Linked DNA regions of Homo sapiens: region 2 is linked to region 1. Evidence: promoter capture Hi-C in human tissues and cell types (Jung and others, 2019). All regions are on one chromosome and are shown on one strand. Each heading gives the region's core, a stretch centred on a gene start or on the middle of the fragment in contact. The rest is flanking DNA. Distances are from core to core; before and after follow the strand shown. Region 1 holds the start of PIEZO2 (piezo type mechanosensitive ion channel component 2). Region 2 overlaps PIEZO2 (piezo type mechanosensitive ion channel component 2).

The links. Contacts are between HindIII fragments. The study calls those that stand out against the background at their distance.
Region 2: a contact is called between a fragment that was not itself captured here and the fragment with the promoter of PIEZO2 in region 1, in 4 of the 25 tissues and cell types used here (dorsolateral prefrontal cortex, lymphoblastoid cells, mesendoderm cells and 1 more).

The regions. Positions count from the first base shown.
Region 1 is chr18:11,147,070-11,151,015 of GRCh38, reverse strand. PIEZO2 (piezo type mechanosensitive ion channel component 2) reads left to right here and starts at 1,447. Exons shown (of 56, transcript NM_001378183.1): 1 at 1,447-2,491. The coding sequence starts at 2,428. It overlaps LOC124904249 (a long non-coding RNA gene), which reads left to right and starts at 2,500. Exons shown (of 2, transcript XR_007066288.1): 1 at 2,500-3,946. RefSeq lists silencers at 1,095-1,544, 1,785-2,064, 2,085-2,264, 2,275-2,344 and enhancers at 2,038-2,876, 2,905-2,954. The HindIII fragment of the contact is 6,242 bases long and covers 1-3,946 here.
Region 2 is chr18:11,015,121-11,019,381 of GRCh38, reverse strand. The region is part of intron 2 of PIEZO2 (piezo type mechanosensitive ion channel component 2); the gene reads left to right. Among named protein-coding and RNA genes, the nearest start is that of PIEZO2, 130 kb to the left of the region's middle. The HindIII fragment of the contact is 9,138 bases long and covers 1-4,261 here.

The sequences.
Region 1 (3,946 bases), core at 198-2,697:
CAGGAGTCCTTCACCTATTAGCTCCCAAGAATGAGTCGTACATGGGGTGAGGTGGGGAGGGCATGGATGTGAAGGCAGACTTATGAACATCAAAATTAGTGGTAGATTTATATCAGGCTTCTACAAACAGGCTACACAAACCATTTCTTGATAGCATTTCTTGGTGACTGGATGCTAATTTAAGTTCTATCGTCTCCTGTAGGTCTGCTGTTGAGCTCATGACTACGCCCGGGTTTAGGTGCTATCTAAGCTTCTTGAGGATGGCAGAGCACATGGGTGGTTTAAGTTTCAGGGTGTCTTCACCATATGCCAACTGTCTTGAGTCTTCATTCAAAAAGCAATGGTTCATAGTTTTTCTGTAATTCTCAGAGAATTCGTGAAGGCACCTGAGCTCAAACCACAAGCTTACCCTGTCTCAAAAAAGGGATGTCCACAAAAGCGTTTCAAATGGCTAAAAAGACGGGGGTTTGCCTGTTTTTCATCAGCTCACTGCTCTATCCCCTCCAACTAATGCAAGCCAGGAATGTAGGTGCGGAAGGGAAGCCAGGTCCTTCCCAGTGTGTCCTCCTGATGGAATGCCAGTCCTGAACAGTCCTCTCTACAGATGCTAACAGCCTCTTCCTCCATGTCCGGAAAGACCCCTACTGTGCTCTAGCAAATCTCCTCCACTCTCGGATAACAGTTAAATAAAAGACCCAGGCACACTGCAGTCTCCCAGCTAGAGCCAGATTTCTCTAGATCTTGCCTAGAACAGGCAAAAAGCAGTGCACTAGGAGAAAGGGAGAATATTCTCAGTGCCAACGCTCTCTTTCCCCAGAGCCACGACAAGCAAGGAGCAAAACTGAGGTGAAAACGGAGAGTTCCCCCAAATGCACAAAGTGGGTGCATTATCTGTTGGGGAAGACCCGGGATTTCCCAGAGTCTATTCAGAATGGCAAGTTCTTGCTATGTGAAATATGGGCAGGGTCAACGGTGTAGATGAATTCAGCTCTATTCTTCTTAATGCCAGTGTGCACCTGTGGACCCAGCAGAAGTCGGGGTCGCACAGGACTCTCCAAGCCCCTGGCTTCTCTCCTGCCGGGCCTGTGCGTTTCCCTCGGACCTTAAACGGTTCCCTGGGTTTGGGCAAGCTCAGGGCCCGGCCGGGTGGACTGGATGCCAGGGTGCACCACCGGAATGACAGAACCACGCAGAGCCGCGGGGCTGCGGGAGCCAGTGGGGCAGGAGTGCCCGCGGAGGGCGAGCCAAGGCGCGCAGCCCACTGGCAGGCCAGGCCGGGTCTCTCCCAGGCGCGGGAGCCGCGGGTGGGGGCTTGCCCTCCGCGCCGGTGCAAGGCTCTCACTTCCCCAGCCGCTCAGGGGCGGGCTCCGCGCGCGCAGGCCCCGGAGCCGCCATCCCATTGGCCGGGGGACACGCCCGTCCCCGAGTGAGGGCTTCGAAAGTTTCATTGAAGGTGGAGAAGCGCGCGCCGCCGGGGAGCCCCGGCTGCGCCGCGAGGGCGAGGCTGCAAGGCGGCAGGCGGTGGTCGCGCTGGGCGACGGGACGGCGCTGGTTTTTCTCTTGAGTTTTAAATTGAGGCGGTGGAGGAGGGAGTGGGAGACCCACTCACCCGATATGCGCTCTGGTCTCCATTTCTCCCCACGCTCGCGCCGTTCCTTCGAGTGAGGGAGGGACTCGCAGCGCCGCCCGCGCACCGGACCCACAAGGCGAGCCCCGTGGTGGCGGGGATGGTTCTGCGCGCCTGGCAGCTCCCACCCCGGTCTCTCCGGCCCGAAGCTGGGGGGCGCAGGGGCTGAGCTGCGCTGCCTCTCGGGGATCCGCCGCGGGCCGCCTGGGGGCTGGAGGGCGAGACCCGGAGCCCGCCGGGCAGCTCCGAGAGCCGGGGCCGAGGCCAGAGCGCGGCAGCCTGCGTGGGCAGCGGAGACGAGGCCGGGCAAAGGAGACGCGGTGGCTTCAGAGGGGCTTCCAAGTAGAAAACTCCCCGGCCGCCCCCAAACGACGCCCCGGGAGCCAGGCGGGAGCACAGCACGCCCTTCTTGCCCCCTTTGCTCGCCGCGCCGCCTCCCAGGACCCTCCCAAAGCGTCCCTCTCCAAGGCCCCGGCATCAGCTACCCCTGAAGAAGCCGCCGCCGCTGCCGGATCCAGGATTCACACTAAATGGGCCGGCCGCAGGGGGCCGGGCGCCGGGCTAGGTGGCCGCCAAGAGCCTGGTGAGGGGCTACCCAGAGCCCGGTGGGCGAGGGGCGGCCAAGAGCCCCGGGAGCGTGCCCTCGGGGCGGAGAGCGTCGCGGCCCGCGCCGAGGCGATGCTCGGGTGGCTGCGAGCTGCCGGCGGCGAGAGGCCATAGACGGGCATGGGCCTTGCGTCCCACCACCCCTAGGGACCCTCGAGCCTCGCCCCTCTGCTCCGACTCGCCGGACCGACGCGATGGCCTCAGAAGTGGTGTGCGGGCTCATCTTCAGGCTGCTGCTGCCCATCTGCCTGGCAGTAGGTGAGTCTGGTCCGCTTTCCGAGGGCACTTGAGGAGGACGAGGGGGGCGCCTGGGTGGGGGACTTCTTAACAAAGTGAAGGGCTCTGGTGCTCTGGGGTTCGATTCGGGAGGCCAGCGGCGTCAGACGCGCGCTGTCCCTGGTGCACAGCCTGGCTCTCTCACTTCCCACTCTGGGGCGCGCGATCGGGGTATCTCTTAACAGGATGCTCGGGACGGGCATGTGCTGGAAACTGTTTATGTTGAATTTAGTTACACGTGGATTTTCTTTCGTGGAGTACTGACTTGTGTACTAAGGATGGCCATTGCTGTGGCTGGAAGGCGGATGCGTCCCCATCGTAGGTACAGTCAGGCTCCTACCTGAGCCCCTCGCCCCAGTGACCCTGCAAGCACAGCATGCTGTGCCTCCAGACGGCCCAGAGGCCATCTCTCCCAGACCCCAAATCCCAGCAACCGTGAAGGAAGAAGTGAAGGACTCCGGTCATTCAAAAAAGAAAAAGAGGGACGAGGTACAGGGAGACAGTGCCTTGACGTTTCTTACTTATTTTTTAAAACCTCCACAAAAGCCCCTACTACAAAAGTACTGGATGCTAAGGCTATAGACCCCCAACACCTAGTCCCGCCTCCCAGCGGCCGCCCTCTCCAGATTTTAAAGGGTTAGAAAGCAGGGTTGGAACTCCTTGGGACTGGCAAGGGCCCAGGGAGGACCGCAAGGGAGCCTCCTCGACGCCCAGACAAGCGTTGCACCGTTTCCCCAGGACTGGCCTGGCGTGCAAAGCAACTGGGTGCTGCGTTCTGGGAGTCGGACCGTTTCTGATCTTCTCCTCAAACAGGCAGTGCCTGTGACATTGAATTCCTCTCGTAAGAATGCCGGGCCCTGGTTCTTTGCTCTCCCTCTCACCAACAAGAGCTAGGAAGTAGAGCGCTTTTCACCAAGTAGTAACTGTATTTACAGAGGGCGTGGCCTTCGCAGAAAAGGCCACCTTTTTGCATCTTGACCGAGGTTGATGACTCTGCATCTTGACCGAGGTTGATCACACCTGTGTTAAATGTTTTCTTTGTGCAAGCAATCGAATGGGGGCTGTAGCGTGATTGGTGAGGGTCAGGACAGTTGCCGGGAGAGTTTTTGTAACACACTTCGTGAGTGAAGAGTCTGGGAGGCGTCTTTTCAACAAACCTCAGCGGAAAACCCAGAAAGGCGCTCCGAGTGGAGGGAAGGTGTGGCCAGGCGGGGTCCCGGGGCAGCAGGAGGGACCCACGGGTGGATGCTGGCCTCGTTCTCTACTTTGCAGTTTGAGTTTCCATTTTGCAGGGGTCTAGTCTCACTCGCATAGATGAAGAGCTAAGCTTCCACAGAGCGGATATGCACCTCTCTCCCCGCCAGCTTGAAAAGCGATTTGGGAAAGGGATTCTTCAGGTGCCTTACACACAGAGGGTGTCACTGCTCAGGGATCATC
Region 2 (4,261 bases), core at 1,085-3,584, 130 kb after region 1:
TGATATCCAGGTTGGAAAGGTAGGCAGCCTGGGCCTTGGCAGACACCATAAAGGATTTTATTTTCCAGTCTAGGAGAAGCCCTAAAGCATTTTAAGTAGCGGATTAGGTGACAAGACATATGTCTTTAAAAGATCTCTCTGGTTCCCATATGAAAAGTTCATGATCAGGAAGGAAAAGTAACAGGGAGGACCCTTAGAAGGCTGCTGCCTTCTGTGGTGCAAGGTAGAATTGGGGTAGCCTTGGACCTACGTCAATGGAGACATCAGTGGAAAGTGGAGAAGGGCTGGATTGGATGTAAGTTACATCGTGGAGGTAAGAACCAGCAGGGTTTGCTGGTGGCTTGGATGTGGACTATGAAGGGCACAAAAAATCAAGGCTCCGTCCTGAATTTTGGGGTTGATCTCACACACACACTCACGAAACACCTGTGATGGATTGTGGTGACATTTACTAAAGTGGAGAAAAATAGGTGAAGAAGTGTTTTGGGATAGAATTAAGAGATTCATTTTAGACATGTTGTGGTTGAGATATCTGTTATGGGTAGAATTGTATACCTCAAAAAGATATGTGGGTATGAGTGGACTCACATATCCACTCATCCTTAAAATAAAATGAGATCTCTTCATGGGGTTCCAAAAGGAAGGAGACATCATTTCTGTTCCTTGTCTCAATAATGCATCTTCTGCCTAATCATAGATGTCAGATTAAATGGACAAGACAAAATAGAAATATCTTTATTAGGAGCAAGCTGTCCCACCAGGCATACATGTGTGTTCACAGTAGTGTCACCCACCGTTCAGTGGCTGCTGGCGATTCTTCAGCGGGATTCACAATTTGGCCATAAATGAGACACCACAATTACGTCAAACTCTGATTAATCTTCCTGCCAACAGATCAGGAATCATATGTTAAGTCTGATCCAAGCTCATGTTCTTCCTTTATTTCAACACACACACACACACACACACACACACACACACACACACACACACACACACGACATGTTGGGAGTCCTAACCCCCAGGATCTCAGAATGTGACCTTATTTGGAAATATGGTCTTTGCAGGTGCAATCAAGTTAAGAAAAGGAGTAGTGTGGGCCATTAATTCAATATGCCTGTGTCTTAAGAAGAGAGAACACACACACACACACACACACACCACCACCACCACCACCACCACCACCACCATGCGATGACTGAGGCAGGAACCGGAGTAATGCAGCTGCAAGCAAGGACCACTGTGGATGACCGGCCACTACCCAAAGCTGGAAGGGGCAGGGAACAATTCTACACTAAAGCCTTCTCGGGGAGCAGGGCCCTGCTGACACCTTAATTGCAGACTTTTAGCCACCAGAACAGTGAGGCAATACATTTCTGTTTTTTATTTGTTTGGTTATTATTATTATTATTACTTAATAGAGACAGGGTCTCACTGTGTTGCTCAGGCTGGCCTGGAACTTCTGAGCTCAAGCTGTCCTCCCACCTTAACCTCCCAATGCACTGGGATTAGAAGTCATTTCTGTTGTTTTAAGCCACTCAGTTTGTAGTACATTGTTAGAGCAGCCGTAAGAAACTAATACAATGCCTAAGCACTTAGATCAAGATATGAATCTGAGCTCAAAAGAAGAGGTCTCCATCTGAGGATTAAAATAGTCTATCAATGCGGAGACCCTGAGGAAGAATGTTCCAGGCAGAGGGAAGAGCATGCCTGTTTTTGGCATACGATTTCTTTTATACAGAAGAACCATTCTGCAGTACAACACCCATAAACTCTGAGAAAATAAATGGGTATGAAATTTTATAGCTTGATTTCCATCCCTGGAATGATTGAAATAGATATTACCTGCACATATTATGTTAGAAATTATATTATACATACCCAGTAAAAAAAAAAAAAGCAAAACTGCATCTCAAAAAAAAAAGGCATTCATGCTTTCATAAAGATTGTGTTTATTGTAATGAAATGTTTTATGGTGCAAGTCATTTGTGGTTATTTAGAGTATTAAAAAACCCATGGATTTTCAGAATTGTAAGGGACATTAGAGGTTACGTCTTGAAGAACTCTCTTCTTAATGCTTAAGTTTTCTACATTACCATTAATAAGATATCACTTAATTTCTGCTAAAACACTTCCAGTAATGTAAGAAGCAGTTGGACTTCCAGGGCAACCCATCCATTTGACAATTAGACATTTTTGACCGTAGAGGTCAAAAACACATCTTTGTGACTTCATTAACGTGTCCAAGTTATGTTCTTTGAAAAATCTCAAAGTTAAGTCTCATCCCTCGTCCCTAGAAATTCTTTTAGATGTTTGAATGCATGAACCACGTTCTTATGAGGGTTTTCTCCAGGCTGGTGTACCTGGTTCTTCCACCTGAGACTGTTTCTAACCCTGACCCTTCAATCCTGTGCTCTCCTCTGAACTTCCCTCAGCTTGTCAGTGTCTCTCCCAACTCCATGTTTAAACATCAGCAGGACCAAGTAAATAATGAAATAAACAATTGCAGAAAGCAATTATTAGGGGAGAAGGAAATAACAAAAGGATGGAGTTTTTCCAACAAGAGCATTAAGAAGAAAAATCTAAATAAATATATCAAATCCACATGTATGGGGATGAAAACTGGGAAGGAATTTGCCTCCAGTGAAAAAACATTACATTATTTGATGGAGTTTTTCATCATGAAACATGATTTCTTCAACACCATGTACCTGTTTTGTGCATTTTTGGTTTTGCCTTTTCTAGGATTGTATTCAGAATCCCAGCATTTGTTTTCTTTTTACCTTGAGTTATCACTTGTTTAAATGAGTAACTCGTTACTTACTTTTGATGAACTAATTGCATTTCTCGGGCACACCTCTTTGTTAAGCCGCTTAACCCGACCCCCCTCATACCCACCCTTTGCAGGGGGTTCCTAGGGGTTCACTTTCTCTCTGGGGCCCCTGAAGGGAATTGTCTGGGTTTTGGTTCCTCTGTGTTGTCAGTGCCCTCCAGCCTCCTTTCTGCCTCTGGATGTTGCCTTGTGTCCTTGCTCTGTGCCTGTTTTTTCGCTCTGACCGTCTCTACCGCCACATTCTGTGTCTCTCCTGTGATTCTGCCCACAGTCATCCCATTCTCTTACATACTCTGGCCACTCTTGGCCTGTTTCTTTCCCTGTGGGATGACAGTTTCAAAGAGAGTGAATGTCAAAGGGCTCATTTCCTTCCCTCTTACCCACAGTACTCATTACATTTGCTAAATTGAGGTATTAACAGAGGTTAATAAGAGGTCCTGCTGTTGTTGGTTTGGGTCTACAGGAGCAATGGAGAAGGAGGAAGAATGAGGCTGAAGGAGGCCAGGGTGAAAAGGGAGAACAAGGAAAAGGGGAGAATGTCACCAGGATTGCCCAAGCTATTTCTCACTAACGTGCAGTTGATTTGCAAATTGTGATTGAAACAAAGAAGCCTTACAAAAACGTTTAGAAAGTTTTCATTTTCAAAATAATATTTAAAACATGAAGTTGAACATGTGTGCATGTGAACAGTTTTGATTTAAAGTGTCAGCCTTAAAGGGTTTTTTGTGTGTGTTCGTGTTTATTGTTTTCCATAAGAAATTCGAGTCTACCATAGAGCACTATGCAAATAAACAGATCTTAAGTATAAATACCAGGGCTGCAAGAGTCGTTCCTGTTCTGCAGCTTAGGGTACATAGAAATGTGTCCCTTCCCTCACAGTCAACCAGCCCAGCAAATGCAGCAGGAAAGGGGCCCACCCCTTTAGATTTGACCTTACCTTGGCACTGATTATCAAGGCGTTCTCTTAAAACATGATATTATTGATATATTCTAAAATTTTCAGGTTAAATATTTTATTTAATCTCCATAATTTGTGAACATATTATTTTATAGGGCAAAAAGGACTTTGCAGATGTGAGTAAGTTAATTACCATTAACTTCCATCTTTATTGCCAGAGAATATTCTCTTTTGAGCTCTCCATGAAATCAGGGAGGTTTGGTGAAGCACACAGAGAAGGAAGACAGAAGGAAGAGCCAGCCAGGGTGGCATGCCCCATACTGAGGAGTGAGGGGGCCCCGGATCTGGGTGAAGTGCCCCACATTGAGGAATGAGGGGGCCCTGGATTGCTGTCCCACCCAGGGTGACATCTTCCCCACACTGAGGAATGAGGGGGGCCCCGGATTGCTGTCCTGCCCAGGGTGACATCTTCCCCACACTGAGGAATGAGGGGGTCATGGATCGCTGTCTCACCCAGGGTGACATGTTCC